2 separate regions of the Homo sapiens genome follow, and region 2 is linked to region 1. Evidence: promoter capture Hi-C in human tissues and cell types (Jung and others, 2019). All regions are on one chromosome and are shown on one strand. The core of a region is centred on a gene start or on the middle of the fragment in contact, and the rest is flanking DNA. Distances in the headings are between cores, read along the strand shown.

Region 1 (4,294 bases), core at 489-2,988:
ATCCAGTTTGCCATTCTGTGTCTTTTAATTGGGGCATTTAGCCCATTAACATTTAAGGTTAGTGTTGTTATGTGTGAATTTGATCCTGTCATCATGATGCTAGCTGGTTATTTTGCAGACCTTGTTTATGTGGTTGCTTCATATTGTCACTGGTCTGTGTACTTCACTGTATTTTTATAGTGGCTGGTAGTGGTTTTCTTTTCCATATTTAGTGCTTCCTTCAGGAGCTCTTGCAAGGCAGGCCTGGTGGTGATAAATTCCCTAAGCATTTGCTTCTCTGAAAAGGGTCTTAGTTCTCCTTTGCATATGAAGCTTAGCTTGGCTAGATATAAAATTCCAGGTTGGAAATTCTTTTCTTTAAGAATGTTGAATATTGGCCCTCAATCTCTTCTGGCTTGTATGGTTTCCACTGAGAGGTTTGCTGTTAGTCTGATGGGTTTTCCTTTGTAAGTGACCTAGCCTTTCTTTCTGGCTGCCCTTAACATTTTTTTCTTTCATGTAGACCTTGGAGACTCTGAGGATTATGTGTCTTGGGGTTGATCTTCTCGTGGAGTATCTTACTGGAGTTTTCTGCATTTCCTGAATTTGAATGTTGGTCTGTCTTGCTAGGTTGCAGAAGTTCTCCTGGATGATATTCTGTAGTATGTTTTCCAACTTGGCTCCATTTGCCCCATCTCTTTCAGGTACCCCAATCAGTCATAGGTTAGGTCTTTTTAAACAGTCTCATATTTCTCTGAGGTTTTGTTCATTCCTTTTCATTCTTTTTTGCCTGTCTTATTCAGAAAGATTGTCTTCAAGCTCCGAGATTATTACTATTCTTGTCTGCCTGTCTTATTTCAGCAAGATAGTCTTGAAGCTCTGAGATTCTTTCCTCCACTTGGTCTATTCTGCTACTGATACTTGTGACACATTGTGATGTTCTCATGTTGTGTTTTCAGCTCCATCAGGTCTGTTTTGTTCCGCTCTAAACTGGCTATTCTGGCTATTAGCTCCTGTATTGTTTCATTTTGTATTTTGTAGAGGTGGAGATTTGCTCTGTCACCCAGGCTGGAGTGCAGTGGCCTGATCTCAGCACACTGCAACCACTGCCTCCTGAGTTCACTGGTTCTCCTGCCTCAGCCTCCCAATTAGCTGGGATTACAGGCAAGCACCACTGTGCCCAGCTAATTTTTTTGTATTTTTGGTACAGACAGTTTTCATCATGTTGGCCAGTCTGGTCTCAAACTCCTGACCTCATGATCTGCCTGCCTCAGCCTCCAAAGTCCTGGGATTATAGGCATGAACCACTGCACCCAGCCTCCTATATTGTTTTATCATGATTCTTAGCTTCTTTGCATTGGGTTAGAACATGCTCTTTTAGTTCAGTGAGGTTCATTATTACCCATCATCTGAAGCCTACTTCTGTCAATTCAGCCATCTCAGCCTGAGCCCAGTTTTGTGTCCTTGCTGGAAAAGTGTTGTGGTCATTTGGAGGAAAAAAGGCCCTCTGGCTTTTTGAGTTTTCAGCTTCTTTGCATTGATTCTTCCTCATCTTTGTGGGCTTATCAACCTTGAATCTTTGAGGTTGCTAACCTTTGAACAGACTTCTTGTGGGGTCTTTTTTGTTGATGTTGTTGCTGTTGTTTTCTGTTTGTTTGTTTGCTTGTTTGTTTTTCTCTTAACAGTCAAGCTACACTACTGTAGGGCTTCTGTGGTTTGCTGGGGGTCCACTTCAGACCCTAGTTGCCTTGTTTTTTCCAGTACTTGGAGGTATCACCAGTGAAGGCTGCAAAACAGCAAAGATGGCTGCCAGCTCCTTCCTCTGGAAACTTTGTCCCAGGTGGGTACTGACCTGTTGCTGGCCCAAACACACTGGTAGGAGGTGTCTGGAGACCCCTGTTGGGAGGTCTCACCCAGTCAGGAGGAATGGGATCAGGGACCCACTTAAATAAGCAATCTGTGCCGGGCACAGTGGGCTCATGCCTGTAATCCAACACCCTGGGAGGCCGAGGCAGGTGGATCACGAGGTCAGGAGATCGAGACCATCCTGGCTAACATGGTGAAACCCCATCTCCACTAAAAAAAAACAAAAAAAAAAAATTAGCCAGGTGTGGTGGCAGGTGCCTGTAGTCCCAGCTACTCGGGAGGCTGAGGCAGGAGAATGGCATGAACCTGGGAGGTGGAGCATGCAATGAGCCGAGATCATGCCACTGCACTCCAGCCTGGGGGACAGAGTGAGACTCCGTCTCAAAAATAAATAAATAAATAAGCAATCTGACTGCTTTTTGATAGAGCAGGTGTGCTGCACTGGGGGGAGCCCTTCCTTGTCCAGACTGTTTGTATTCTCCAAAGCCGATAGGCTGGAAAAGACTGAGTCAACCAAACCACAAAGACAGCAGCTGCACCTCCCCCAGGGGCTCTATCCCAGGGAGAGATCAGAGCTTTTTCTGTAGAACCCTAGCTGGAGTGGCTGAAGCTCCCACAGAGAGGTTGCACCCAGTGAGGAAGAATGAACTGGGGTCCCGCTTAAAGAAGCAGTCTGACCACAGTCTGGCAAGGTGGCTGTGTTGCTTTGTGAGGGACTTTTCCTCATCCAGACTTTATATTCTCCAAAACCAGCAGACTGGAATGGCTGAGTCTACCAAACTACAGCAATTATGAGTTTAATTTCTTTTATAGATATAAGATTATTCAGATTTGTATTAATTCTTATGTCATTCTGGTCATTAGCATCTTTCAAGTAATTTAAAAATTTTATTTAAATTGTCAAATGTATTGGCATAAGGTTGTTCATAATACTGCCTTTTAATTCTTTTAATATCTGTAGGGTTTGTAGTGATACCTCTTCTTTTGTTTATTGATATTGATAATTTGTGTTTGTCTGGGTTTAAGTCAATTTAGCTGATAATTTATCAATTTTATTGATTTTTTTCAAAGAGCTAATTTTTTGCCTGTAATCCCAGCAATTTGGAAGGCCAGACCACTTGAGCCTAGGAGTCCAAGACCAGCCTGGGCAACATGGTGAAACCCTGACTCTACAAAAAATCTAAAACATTAGCCAGGCATGGTGGTGTATACCTGTAGTTCCAGCTACCTGGGAGGCTGAGATGGGAGGATCACCTGAGCCCAAGAGGTTGAGGCTGCAGTGAGCCATGATCATATCACTGCACTCCAGCCTGAATGACAGAACAATACCCTGTTTCAAATTTTTAAAAACTAATTTTTGTTTTATTGGTTTTTCTCCTTTATATTCATTGATTTCCATTCTTTGTTATTTTCTCTGTTCTATTTACTCTGAGTCCATCTTGCTTTTCCTGATCTACCTTGTTAAAGTGGAAGCTTAAATTATTGGTTTTAAATATTTATCTTTCTAACATAAGCATTTAAAGACATAAAGTTTCTTCTAAGCACTGATTTAGCAGCATTTCACAATTTTTCATATGTAATTATTATAATTTAGTTCAAAATATTTTCTAATTTCCCTTGTGATTTCTTCCTTTACTCATGGGTTATTTAAACACACATTGCATGCGAGGCACAATGGCTCATGCCTGTAATCCCAGCACTTTGGGAGGCCAAGGCAGGAGAATTTTTTGGGGCCAGGGGTTTGAGACCAGCCTGGGCAATATAGCAAGACCTTGTCTCTACAAAAAAAAAAAAAACTTAATTAAGCAGATATAGTGGCACATGCCTCTAGTCCCAGCCACTCAGGAGGCTGCAACAGGAAGATTATTTGAGTCCAGGAGTTTGAGGTTACAGTAAGCTATGATCACACCACTGCACTGCAGCCTGCGCAACGGAGTGAGACTATGTCTCTCAAAAAATCATAATAATAGGCTGGGCGCACATCTATAATCCCAGCTCACATCTATAATCCCAGCACTTTGGGAGGCCGAGGCGGGTTCATGAGGTCAGGAATTTGAGACCAGCCTGGCCAACATGGTGAAACCCCGTCTGTACTAAAATACAAAAAATTAGCCGGGTGTGGTGGTGTGTCTCTGTAGTCCCAGCTACTCGGGAGGCTGAGGCAAGAGAATCACTTGAACCCAGGAGGCAGAGGTTGCAGTGAGCCGAGATCGCATCACTGCACTCCAGCCTGGTGGCAGAGCGAGCCTCCATCTCAAAAAAAAAAAATCATCATAAAATAAAAGTATGTTGCTTAAATTCTAGATATTTTATTGTTGTTTATTTCTAATTTACTCCCCTTGTGGTAATAGAAAATATTCAGCTTTATCTTAATTCTTTGAAATTTATTGAGTTTTGTTTTATAGCCCAGCATATGGTCTATTTTGGTGAGAAAGTCTTTCTTGCTGTT
Region 2 (4,427 bases), core at 292-2,791, 140 kb before region 1:
TTATTATAGTCACCCTGTTGTGCTATCAAATAGTAGGTCTTATTCATTCTTTTTATTTTTTTGTACCCATTAACCATCCTCATCTCCCCCCAACAGCCCCCACTACACTTCCCAGCCCCTCCTCCATGAGTTCTATTGTTTTGATTTTTAGATCCCACAAATAAGTGAGAACATGCAATGTTTGTCTTTCTGTGCCTGGCTTATTTCACTTAACATAATAAACTCCAGTTCCATTCATGTTGTTGCAAGTGACTGGATCTCATTATTTTTATGGCTGACGAGTACTCCATTGTGTATATGCACCACATTTTCTTTATCCATCCATCTGCTGATGGACATTTAGGTTGCTTCCAAATCTTAGTAAACAGTGCTGGAACCAACATAGGAGTGCAGATATCTCTTCTATATACTAATTTCCTTTCTTTGGGGCATATTTTCTAGGATTTTTATAGGTTGAAGTCTTGCATTTAAAACTTTAATCCATCTTCAGTTAGTTTTTATGTATGGTGAAAGGTAAGGGTCTGGTTTCATTCTTCTGCATATGGCTAGCCAGTTATCCCAGCACCATTTATTGAAAAGAAAGTCCTTTCCCCATTGCTTGTTTTTCTTGGTCTTGTCAAAGATCAGATATTTTTAAGTGTAAGGCTTTATTTCAGAAGTTTCTATTCTGTTCCATTTGTCTATGTGTCTGTTTTTGTGTCGATACCATGCTGTTTTGGTTACTATAGCTTTATAGGATAGTTTGAAGTCAGGTAGTGTGATGTCTCTGGCTTTGTTCTTTTTACTTGGGGCTACTTTTGCTATTCAGGCTATTTTTTGGTTCCACGTGAATTCAGAGTAGTTTTTTTCTAATTCTGTGATGGATGACATTGGTAATTTGATAGAAATAGTGTTGAATCTGTAAGCCACTTTGGGGAATATGACCGTTTTAATAATATTGATCTTACAATTCATGAACATGGGATGTTTTTCCACTTATTTGTGCCATCTCTGGTTTCTTTGAGCAGTGATTTGTAGTTCTCCTTGTAGAAATTTTTCACCTCTCCTTGGTTAGCTGTATTCCTAGGTATTTCATTTTCTTTGTGGCTATTGTAAATGGGGTTGTGTTCTTGATTTATTCTCAGCTTGAATACTATTGGTGTATAGAAATGCTACTAGTTTTGTATATTGATTTTGTATCCTGAAATCTTACTAAAACTGTTTATCAGCTCTATTAACCTTTTGGCAGAGTCTTTAGGGTTTTCTGCATTTTAAAATGAGCATTCTGGCTGCTGCAGGAAGATAAGAATGATCTAGTTAGGAGGCTTTGACAACAGTCCGTGAGATATATACTATGGCGTGGCCTAGAGATGATGAGAAGTGATCAGATTTAGGATACACTGTAAAGGTACAGCCAATACATCTATCTGATGTAAAATAGAAAAATAGAGGAAGTAGTCATTATTCTAAGGTTTTGGAGCAACTGGGTGAATGATAGCACAATTTAATGTGATGGGAGATAATAGATTTTGGGTGTGTTTGGAATTAAGAATTTACTTTCGGAGAACCCAGCAGAGCTGGTTGAGCTTTCAAATGTGCGGTTGTGGGTTCGGGGTTTATTGGTTGAATTCCGCTGGCTCAGGAGCCTCTGCAGAGAAAGCGTGAGAGATGGAGATGGGCAAATGGATTCATTTAGAGCTGCGGAACAGGACGCCCTCCGATGTGAAAGAACTTTTCCTGGACAACAGTCAGTCAAATGAAGGCAAATTGGAAGGCCTCACAGATGAATTTGAAGAACTGGAATTATTAAATACAATCAACATAGGCCTCACCTCAATTGCAAACTTGCCAAAGTTAAACAAACTTAAGAAGCTTGAACTAAGCAGTAACAGAGCCTCAGTGGGCCTAGAAGTATTGGCAGAAAAGTGTCCAAACCTCATACATCTAAATTTAAGTGGCAACAAAATTAAAGACCTCAGCACAATAGAGCCCCTGAAAAAGTTAGAAAACCTCGAGAGCTTAGACCTTTTCACTTGCGAGGTAACCAACCTGAACAACTACTGAGAAAAGATGTTCAAGCTCCTCCTGCAACTCACATATCTCAACGGCTGTGACCCGGATGACAAGGAGGCCCCTAACTCGGATGGTGAGGGCTTTGTGGAGTGCCTGGATGACAAGGAGGAGGATGAGGATGAGGAGGAGTATGATGAAGATGCTCAGGTAATGGAAGATGAGGAGGACGAGGATGAGGAGGAGGAACGTGAAGAGGAGGACGTGAGTGGAGACGAGGAGGAGAAGGATGAAGGTTATAACAATGGAGAGGTAGATGATGAGGAAGATGAAGAAGAGCTTGGTGAAGAAGAAAGGGGTCAGAAGCGAAAATAAGAAACTGAAGATGAGGGAGAAGACGATGCCTAAGTGGAATAATCTATTTTGAAAAATTCCTTTTGTGATTTTACTGTTTTTAGCCGTATCCCCTCCCCCACTCCAATCCTGCCCCCTGAAACTTATTTTTTTCTGATTGTAACGTTGCTGTGGGAGCAAGAGAGGAAAAGTGTACTGGGGGTTGTGAGGGAAGGGAGGGGAGGAGGGGGTGGAATAAAATACTATTTTTACTGCCACTCTTTATTTTTTCCCCCTACTTTTTCCTTGTGTCCAGTTTTTGTCCCTGTAAATGCAATAGTTAAGTACACACTAAGCATTTGTTCCTGGCTCTCAAAGAAGATGGTTTGGAGTTCTCTTATGTTTCCTGGTATTTTCCAAGTCTCAGGTTGGGTGGAAGTCCGCGGCTGGTCTCAGTTTGGTTACTCAACACCCAGAAGGGTCTGAGCACCAGCCATAGCTTTTGCTTTGATTCACATGCTTTTCGCGGAACTGCTAGAGGCATCCAACACCCTGGTTTGTAAATAGCAACCTAAAGGTGTATTTTGGCACTGGTTTGGGGACATTCCCCATCTCTCATCCCTTTTCCCCCTTCACAGATCGTGGTGGGCTTCCTTCTACAAAGAGGACTCAGATGTTACTCTTGAGAGCTTAAGAGCCAGAGAGCTGAAAATGGCAGTCTTGTGAGTTACAAGGAAAATGGATTTGGTAATAATAATTAAAAGTGAAGAAACAAACCCTCAAACTTCAACTTCTTTACAAGAAAAAAAAACTGTCCTATCTTGTTCTGTAAAATATTAGAATGCTTTGTTTTACAAAAATGATGAGAGAATTCTTCTACATGTATTTCTGTGCTTAGAACAATTTTATGGAGCCAGGTGGAGGAGCCAAGATGGCCGAATGGGAACAGCTCTGGTCTACAGCTCCCAGCATGAGCGATACAGAAGACAGGTGATTTCTGCATTTCCAACTGAGGTACTGGGTTCATCTCACTGGGGAGTGCCAGACAGTAGGTGCAGGACAGTGGGTGCAGCACACAGTGCATGACCCGAAGCAGGGCGAGGCATCATCTCACCCAGGAAGTGCAAGGGGTCAGGGAATTCCCTTTCCTAGTCCAAGAAAGGGGTGACAGATGGCACCTGGAAAATCGGGTCACTCCCACCCTAGTACTGCGCTTTTCCAATGGGCTTAAAAAAAGCACACCAGGAGATTATATCCCACACATGGCTCGGAGGGTCCTACGCCCACAGAGTCTCGCTCATTGCTAGCACAGCAGTCCGAGATCAAACTGCAAGGTGGCAGCAAGGCTGCGGGAGGGGCGCCCGCCATTGCCAAGTTAGTTGTTTGATTAGGTAAACAAAGCAGCCGGGAAGCACGAACTGGGTGGAGCCCACCACAGCTCAAGGAGGCCTGCCTGCCTCTGTAGGCTCCACCTCTAGGGGCAGGGCACAGACAAACAAAAAGACAGCAGTAACCTCTGCAGACTTAAATTTCCCTGTCTGACAGCTTTGAAAAGAGTAGTGGTTCTCCCGGCACGCAGCTTGAAATCTGAGAACAGGCAGACTGCCTCCTCAAGTGGGCCCCTGACCCCTGAGTAGCCTAACTGGGAGGCACCCCCCAGTAGGGGCAGACTGACACCTCACACAGCCGGGTACTCCTCTGAGACAAAACTTCCAGAGGAACAATCAGGCATCAGCATTTGCGGTTCACCAATATCCGCTGTTCTGCAGTCACTGCTGCTGAAACCCAGGCAAACAGGGTCTGGAGTGCACCTCTAGCAAACTCCAACAGACCTGCAGCTGAGGGTCCTGTCTGTTAGAAGGAAAACTAACAAAGAGAAAGGACATCCATACCAAAAACCCATCTGTATGTCACCATCATCAAAGAACAAAGGTAGATAAAACCACAAAGATGGGAAAAAAAGAGAAGAAAAACCAGAAACTCTAAAAATCAGAGCACCTCTCCTCCTCCAAAGGAATGCAGCTCCTCACCAGCAACAGAACAAAGCTGGATGGAGAATGACTTTGACGAGTTGAGAGAAGAAGGCTTCAGAAGATCAAACTACT

Evidence for each region. The method cuts DNA at HindIII sites, captures the fragments that hold promoters and counts their contacts. A contact is called where the count stands out against the background at its distance.
Region 2: the fragment with the promoter of ANP32D here is called in contact with a fragment that was not itself captured in region 1 in 1 of the 25 tissues and cell types used here (liver).

Annotation. Positions count from the first base shown.
Region 1 is chr12:48,613,524-48,617,817 of GRCh38, forward strand. No RefSeq gene overlaps it. Among named protein-coding and RNA genes, the nearest start is that of SNORA2C, 39 kb to the right of the region's middle. The HindIII fragment of the contact is 5,812 bases long and covers 1-4,294 here.
Region 2 is chr12:48,471,018-48,475,444 of GRCh38, forward strand. It overlaps ANP32D (acidic nuclear phosphoprotein 32 family member D), which reads left to right and starts at 1,542. Exons shown (of 1, transcript NM_012404.3): 1 at 1,542-2,605. The coding sequence starts at 1,648. The coding sequence ends at 2,043. It also overlaps a transcript of C12orf54 not described here. The HindIII fragment of the contact is 6,491 bases long and covers 1-3,162 here.